Linked DNA regions of Homo sapiens: region 2 is linked to region 1. Evidence: promoter capture Hi-C in 16 types of primary human blood cells and fetal thymus (Javierre and others, 2016). All regions are on one chromosome and are shown on one strand. The core of a region is centred on a gene start or on the middle of the fragment in contact, and the rest is flanking DNA. Distances in the headings are between cores, read along the strand shown. Region 1 holds the start of PLEK2 (pleckstrin 2). Region 2 overlaps MAX (MYC associated factor X).

Region 1 (4,222 bases), core at 460-2,959:
ATGGGGTTGTTGTACTTTAGATAAAACCTAGCACCTACTACTACAGGCCTGGCTTCAGAAGGTGACCAGCTGATGTTCATTCTGAATTGGAATGGAAGCCCCACTGCTTTGGGGCTTCCTGGGAAGTCTGAAGGCCAGTTAGTGCAGAAGGCTAGAGTGGGCCATTGGGCTGGCACGCAGTGACCCAGACCCTGCGAGTTTTCCTTGGGGCTGGCAGGTGGGAGTGGGGTTGGGGGGATGTAATATGTCTACTACAGACATGTAGAAGCAACACTGTGTCAAGAGCTCCAGGGCAGGGACTGGCCTGGGAGCTGGCTTCAGTCTGGTTCTGAAAGGCACCCCCCGCCTTCCACAAGCTGGTTCACCTTCTTCCTCTCTAGAGCCTTCTCTTCCCTTACAGGCATCTGAGGGCCTTTCCCATGCCTGGTGAAGAGTCCTGACAGGGCCCTTCAAACTGGAGCACAAATAATATGGACCGGCCCCATGACTCATGCCCACAATCCCAGCACTTTGGGAGGCTGAGGCAGGAGGACTGCTTGAGCCCAGGAGTTCGAGACCAGTCTGGACAATATAGTGAGACCCTGTCTCTATAAATAAAAATAAATTTTAAAAAAATGTGTGACTGTGTTCTAAGGATTGTTAGACAGAATCAGTACTATTTGACTGAGTTTCCTTCTGTTCCAGGCTCCAATATGGCCTGATAGAACATTGTTGTTGATCCTATCTATTTAAAATGTTAGCATTTTGTTCATCGTGGATTTTTTGACATTAATTTTGATTTTAAAAAATGCATTAAAATATTATTTTTCTAGGTCTTACACGGTGGCTCTTGCCTGTAATCCCAGCACTTTGGGAAGCCCAGGCCGGAGGATTGCTTGAGGCCAGGAATCAAGACCAGCCTGGGCAACATAGCAACACCCTATCTCTACGAAAAATAAAAATAAACCAGCCAGGCATGGTGGTGCACTCCTGTAGTCCTAGCTACTTGGGGAGCTGAGGCAGGAGGATCTTAAGCCCAGAGTTTAAGGCTGCAGTGAGCTATGATCACACCACTGCACTCCAGCCTGGGTGACAGAGAAAGACCCTGTCTCAAAAAACAAACAAAAAACCCCAAAAAACCAATCATCTCTCTCTATATATAATTTGTCTAGGTTACTGGACTCCTTGGTGCCCCCTTAAATTTTGTCCTTAATGATGGAATTTTCGGCTTCATCTTTTTTGAGGGAGCGGGGTATATCCTGCGGACAGGGGGCCCTGCAAACTGTGCCTGCCGCCTTAAAACTGTGACCTTCCTGTTACTGAGAGGTCTTCTCTGCCCCCATCAGAGGCCAGGATAAAATTCCCATACCAGTTTCGGCTCACCCACTGTCCCATCTCCTACTTGCAATGAGCTCAGGAATGGCTCCAAATCCTGGAGTCCTGTCGGTTATGTTCAATTCGATAAGCGTTCCTCGAGGGCAATGCGCTAAGTGCCCGGGAAGCACCTGGCGAAGGACGCTGAGCAGAGAGACTGGAACAGTGAGGGGCGCGGGGCGCACCTGGATGGGGCGGGGTTGGCCGCTCTGTACCTGGAGGACCAACCACCGACCCTGGAGCACCTTTGGGTGGAAACGTCACGTCAGAAATCCCGACTTGGTCTGACTTCCTGCCCCGGGGCCTCAGGCTCTGGACACGCGCCAGGGAGGCGTCGCCCTGCCGCGTCGGAGCTGCTTCCTGGGCGCCGTGGGCGCGGACTGCGCGGGCTGCGCGGGTGCCGAGGAGCGCGAGGCGCGGGGAAGGCGCACCTGGGGTGGCCCTGGCGTGCGGGCGGCGACATGGAGGACGGCGTGCTCAAGGAGGGCTTCCTGGTCAAGAGGGTGAGTGCGCGTCGAGCTTCGGGACATTGCCCGGGTGGGGCCCCGCCGACGCGGCTCCCTAGAGCGGGGCCAGACGCGCGCCCCGGAACGGGCATGCTCTGGTTCCCATCCCCAACCCCCATGGTGGGACCGGGCCGCCTGTGGCCCTGATGGGCAGAGCTGCATGTCCGAGGGGACGCGGGGTAAGCGGTGGCTCAGCGCACAGGCAAGGAGGAGAATCCCACTTGGTTAGCGCAGTATGGAGTCGGGGCAGGGGTACTGAAGCGTGTGTCTTAATTAAAACTTGTTAAAATATTATGAATGGTATGATATTTAAATAATATTTACTAAGATAATATAGGCGTGCTCTGTAATTTACAACCTGTGAAGGAGGAATGCTACTATGTGTCTTAAGCACTTACTGTTGGCCAGCCCTGGATATTGTCTCATGTCATCCTCCCAGCAGCCCTGCTTTCATCAAGGGGGAAAACGAAGCCCAGAGGAGTTAGGGAACTTGCTCGGGGCGGTGAAGGCAGTGGGTGGTGGAGCCAGGATCGGGATCAGACCCACTCAGGTTGACCCAAACCTTTACTGCCTCCCCAGTGCCATACACGGTGGGTACTGACATCACTCTATTACAGACGGGGAAACTGAGGACCAGAAAGATGAAGTAGCTTGCCCAGAGCTCCAGAGCCAGTAATAGCTGGGACAGGAACTGCATGTTCTGACCTCCCCTCCTCAGTCCTTCCCCACCACCCCAGGTGGCCCAGGGCAAACGAGTGCAAACAAAAACTCAGTGCCTGGGATTATGGTAGAAGATGAACAAAAGAGCAGCTGCAAAAGGAAGTTTGTTATTTCAAAATTTTTTCCTGATTTGACCTTTTTTTTTTTTTTTTTTTTTTGAGACAGGGTCACCCAGGCTGGAGTGCAGTGGCACAATCCTGGCTCACCACAGCCTCGACTTCCCAGGCTCAGGTGGTCCTCTCACCTCAGCTTCCCTAGTAGCTGGGACTACAGGTATCCACTACTATGCCCAGCTAATTTTTGTATTTTTTTGTGGAGACAGGGTTTCGCCATGTTTCCCAGGCAGGTCTTGAACTCCCGGGTTTAAGTCATCTGCCCACCTTAGCCTCCCAAGGTGCTGGGATAACAGGCGTGAGCCACCACACAGAGCGTAATTTGAACAATGACATTAACACTAACCATTTATACTGCTATGATGGCATAGCAAAGAGACATATAAATCCAGGGCTGAGCTTTCTGGTTCTTCTACTGAGTTTTCAGCTTTGGGAGGGGAATGAAGAGGGATGAGGGGCCCTTCCTTTCATTGCCTCCCGGGGTGGCTGGATCAGCCCTAAAGTCTCACATCACTTTCATTTTCCCCACAAAATGTGTCCACATGATGTTGCACGTTATTTGGTACAGGAGAGCGGTGGCTGTTTGCTGTAAACAGTAAGCAAGGAGGGTAGAAGCTGATGCCAGATCAAGGGTCAGACTGGATAGAGCAGTACAAAGCGCCACGCCCACTTGCCACTGTGGCTGAACTGATAGGCCGGTTTCTCGCAGCATGTGGAGGTGGCTGCACCTCAGACTACACATGGGGAGCTCCTAATCTCACATTTAACTGCGGCTTGGGAGGTGGGAGGGAGAGTGAGAGCTGGGCACGGGGCTTTTTGTTGGCACTGTTGATATAGCTGGGCCCTGGTAGAGCCTGTGGAGGGATGAAGTTAACATGGAGACAGATCCTTCTGATAGAGCTTTGGGAGTTTTGGAGGCCTTCTCCTGTTCCTGGGGGTTACCTTCCATCATTCCCTATCACCCCCACCATGCTGAGAGTCAGAGGAGGGCTAAGGGCAGAGCCACAGAGCTCCCAGGATATCACCAGGAGGATGGGACTTCTCTTCTGGGTGGCCTGGTTAGGGAATCCAGGGTGCAGAAAATGAGGAGAGTCAACAGATCTGGTCCCCGTAAGCCCTTGGAAAAGACGGGGCTTGGCTGAAATACCTAGAGCTCATTCCAGCCAGACCCAAAGACTGGGATGGAGCCTGACCCTGAGGCAAGCAGAAGTCACACCCCTCCCTGCAGGCTGAAGGATAGGGCCCCAGAACCCTGTTGTGGTCCCAGTCTGCTGAGTAATCCCAACTTTTTCAACCCTCCATATCCCCTCTACTCTTAGATGGCAATAGCATTCCCTATGTCCACTGGAGAAGTTGCAGGCTGTGGCAGGGGGATTCCATAGTCTTAGGAGAGTTAAGAGCTCAGAGGTGGGGCAGGGCCTGCGTTGGAAGCCGGAGTGCAGAGCAGTCATCACCGGTGAAAGCGAAGCCAGAGACAGGCAGGGACATGATAGAGTTGGCTCTTAATCCCACCCAGACGAGAAAGAAGCA
Region 2 (4,405 bases), core at 1,130-3,629, 2.3 Mb after region 1:
AGCAGTGCCTCTTCTAAAAAGTCAGCACTACTGAACTCCAGTGGTTTGTTAGTAGGAGTGAAGGGTCAGTATTGCCAGATCTTCCTATTTTTAATTTTATTTTATTTATTTATTTTTGAGACAGAGTCTCACTCTGTCACCAGGCTGGAGTGCAATGGCGCTATCTCGGCTTACTGCAACCTCCGCCTCCTGGGTTCAAGCGATTCTCTTGCCTCAGCCTCCCGAATAGCTGGGACTACAGGCGCGTGCCACCACACCCAGCTAATTTTTGTATTTTTAGTAGAGACGGGGTTTCACCATGTTGGCCAGGCTGGTCTCGATCTCTTAACCTCGTGATCTGCCAGCCTCGGCCTCCCAAAGTGCTGGGATTACAGGCATGAGCCACCACGCCCAGCCGATCTTCCTATTTTTTAAGAAAGATTAGAAATCTAAAACTTTATGTTATTTTTCTGATTTTTAAAATGATGTGTGGAACAACTGTTTGGGGGCTTGTTAGAATTTGCAGGATGTCACTTTGATACCTCTGGTATAAGAACTTGATAACCACAGGGTAAAGGCAAGCCATCTCAGTTATACCTGCTCTTCATTAGAGCAAGCAAAGATTGTGCAGGTTGTCTAAGCAGATAGGCATTAAGAAAACTTATTTATTGAGAGCTGATATTTCCATAAAATCCGGGGATGTAGTTGTTCCAAAAGTCTTAAAAATTATCCCTGGGTAATAGTCATTAAAGATAATTTGTTTTATTTTATTTATCCTTGAAGTATTCTCATATACTTATGCATATATTTGAAAATTGAATTCCTTTTTCACATTTACTTTTATCCTTCATGTTTGGGGCCTAGTCTGTTGAAAACTTTTTTTTTCCCTGCAAGTCTCCAGTTGTAAAATCTGTGCTAGGGCTTGATCAGAGCTGGAGGGTAAGGATCGTTTAGCCTTCCTTTGCAGAATTATCCTTTGAATTGAAATTATACTGACTTCCCAGTAAGAGAAAGTTGTGTTTTTTTTGTTTGTTTGTTTGTTTGTTTGTTTTTTTGGTGAAATTTTGGCTCGCAGTTCTTGAAAGCTTTCTGCTTTTCAAAATTTTCATCCATATGATCGTTGATATAAATTTGTTATTAAATTATTATAATGTTTCTGCTTTCCTGGAATGCTAATCTCATTGTTTTGTCTAGATGTTTTTAGTTTGCTGTTAAGGTGCCTAGGATTTTTCCTTTTGATTTTGGGGGTAGGCAAAGGAAGTTGGTTTGACACTTTGTTTTTAATTTAACACATCTATTTGTTGATATTTCTAAATATTACTCTGCACAATGTAATTACAACAGCATGGAGAGAAAAAGCAGATATGTTATAAACAAATTTTATAGTATATCAAACAACTATTGTGACTGTGTAGGGTAAAAAGGATTCCATTTTTTCCCCTCTGTGAATGCATCTGCTTACTTCTCAATATTTAATATGGATAATAAATATATTTTTTAAAATTTAAGAGGGAGCTATTCTTAAGTTTTGCCTTAGAAAAAAGGTTTAAAAAAAGATGTGGACTGTGAACAACCAAATACTTAGGTATTCAGGACTACAGAAGATGTTGAAAAAGTTATTTGAAAAGGGTTCTGTGGATCCTAATATAAAAACATTCATGTATGTTTTATAATGTCACTACAATATATAGGCCTTACTACATGAGAAATGTAAGATACTGAGAAGAGAGTTAGGAAGTTAGGCTAACTCTAACAGAAAGTGAAACTGATTTGGCAAATATTTTTTTCTATTGCTTCAGTACAAACGGAAAACAGCTTCTCCAATGGCCAGTAAGCTTTGTTAAAGGAAGTAACCCCAAAGAGTATTCTTACTACTAAATTCAGTACATCGCAAAATCCCACTGATGTTATTTTTATTATATTTTGGAGGGAAGAGGTTGCATTTTAAAGATAAATTTGTGGGACAGGTATATTATATTGCAAGGGCTTCCTTTTGCTTTATTTCTGTTTGGGAAATTTCTTTAGGAAAGAGTGTAAGTATACAGGAAATGTATGGGTTAGTGTGTTGGTCAGGAAATGCAATTTTTTTTCCAGTGACCATCCTTGATGGCACCTGACTGAGTTGCAGTTGCAGTATACTTGTGAGGGGTTTGAAAACAGATTTGTGCAATTCCACTTCTGGACCTTTCTGGCATGAAATATTTTTAACTTCTCAGAGCTCTTTGCTTCTTTAGGAATATTCAGAAGAGAACGAGCTTGGTAGCCTCCGAGATTGGAATTCACTCAGGAAACTACTGTCTGTTTTACCTGCAGTCAGTTGCATGGCAAAAGTGCTGCACAATGCATGTACTTTTTCTCTGCTTAGAGTGTTGACAGTGATGCTTACAGTGATAACAAATGCCAGAGTTAGTTCCTAAATGTGCCTGTGTTAGGGTAAAAGTTGTTCTTATGTCTAAAAGAATTTTTCCAAGATGCCAGTAACGGTGAAATAGTTGGTCAAAGAATTCAGCTTGGTTTTTAATTAAAATTTCCTGACCAAGGCATCCTTCTCTGAAATGGCTATAGTATGAGGCCCTGTTTGGATTATAGCATTTGCCAGTTATTTTAGGCACCAAAAGAAAAAAGTTTGAAAACAAATACATACATTAGATAATGTTGGAAATGTATACCAGGCAATCAGCTACAAGCAGGACAGGTATTGGAAAATTGAAATCCATGTCTTTCTCTTAGGGAGCTTGGTGAGTTTATCCCATCCTACCTGCCTATTATTTTATGTTATAATTTTTGGGTTGATTAAAATGAATATTTTAAGTTGCTTAGAAATTGAGCTTTATCCTATCTTGTTCTTATCTATCAGAAGTAAGAAATAGATCTTTTCGGATGAGATTTTTGGGTCTGTGTATTCTCGTGTCCTTAGTCTCTAATAAGAATAGCTTGATAAGAATCATAAGCAACACAAGCTTCCCTCTAAAATACAACCTTCACATTTTGTAAAGGTAGTAAATATTGAGTGGGCAACTAATTCCCTATATGCTGAGAATTTTCTGTATTAGAATTGAGATGGTTCCCCTTATAGGTGGGGTTAGCTGTCAGGTAGCCTGTAAGACATGGCATTGTTCTGGAGAACCTTGTGCATCCTGGAATAATGAAGCATTTATTTCCCCGTGCTATTTGCCTAGAACTTGGAGGAAATAAGATTACTGACTGATGTGATGCCTTGAACAAAGATGCAGTCTCTCTGCAGTAAGTTGGAAGGAAATAATTTTAAGAGATTTCCCTCAATTTTGAACAGACCTCCTTAGCCTAGATGACTTCTTGCCAACATAGCAACTTCTTGGCTAACAAAATAATGTTTGTCTTCAACATCTAACAACACTTAAGATACACGTGCTTGGTAGTGTCAAAGATGGACAAATTGTAGGTGAAGATTTTTATTCTGTCTACCAGTGTGGAAAGTTGGGTAGAAATATAACTGAGAGGCTGAATAAAAACTTTGGCAGAGATGTCAAAGCTGGAAGTGATTTGGTGCGGGAGTTTCTGTTGAGCATCTGTGGACCACTGCATAGCCCCTTAGTATTTCTGTTAGGGATGCCCTGGAGGAAGGGTTTTCTGGCAGACATCCAGACGTACAAATCCAGCGTACTAGAAGAGTGGGCAGCATCCAGCCACTGTAACCATAGGATGTGTAGGGGAGATGTTTGGGAGCCTGCTGTACAGTCCAAGAATACCTCTGTGGTCTCCTAGAATAGGGCCTAATTAATTCCACAAGGGGGTTTTCCGTACCATTTGTTTTCATTACTGAACATCATTCTCAGTACAGGCTCATCTGAGTAGAGTTTTATTTGTTCAAGACAATTGTTTGGGCTTGTTTTTTAAAACCAGTTTTGCATTTGGGGGAGGATATTAGATGCCTTACACTGGGAGTCTTCACCCAGTTTTTCTTCTTCAACTCTGAAATCTTGGCCCTCTCAAAAAGGGTTGCCAGCAAGCAAAGACAGTTAACAAGGCAGTGATAAAGCCTGCAAACTAGTCCTCCAATGGGGGTGGGGATGAGGCGCGGGCAGTGTTATTGGTCTGGGTGGATCTGTGGTTTGGAAATGTTTCCCACAGAGAATTCTCAGCCTTGTGTAAAGGTTTTTCTGTTTTTCATGTGCTCTTTCAAAACATTAGTGATAACATTTAATTCACAGTTGCCTGGAATTAGGCTTGTTAGTTCTGCATGTTTTTAACTTGTTCTTTCAAATCAAGCTTGGGGAAGAGAAAAATACATCCTTGCCATTGTCTCTGAGAGATTTAAAATTGACTCCACTAGTAGCTCAGGGATGGACATGGCAGCAGGGATTGGTGTAAGATTCCACTCTTCTGCTAGTTAAATTGGGCCTGGAACCACTACAGAAATTCCATCCACTACTTTGAGAACAACAGT

What was found. Contacts are between HindIII fragments. The CHiCAGO score rates a contact against its expected background, and 5 or more counts as called.
Region 2: a contact is called between a fragment that was not itself captured here and the fragment with the promoter of PLEK2 in region 1, in 1 of 17 cell types (M0 macrophages). The highest score is 5.5, in M0 macrophages.

Annotation. Positions count from the first base shown.
Region 1 is chr14:67,409,652-67,413,873 of GRCh38, reverse strand. It overlaps PLEK2 (pleckstrin 2), which reads left to right and starts at 1,709. Exons shown (of 9, transcript NM_016445.3): 1 at 1,709-1,856. The coding sequence starts at 1,815. It also overlaps a transcript of GPHN not described here. The HindIII fragment of the contact is 5,074 bases long and covers 1-4,222 here.
Region 2 is chr14:65,096,161-65,100,565 of GRCh38, reverse strand. The region is part of intron 2 of MAX (MYC associated factor X); the gene reads left to right. Among named protein-coding and RNA genes, the nearest start is that of MAX, 4.2 kb to the left of the region's middle. The HindIII fragment of the contact is 1,125 bases long and covers 1,817-2,941 here.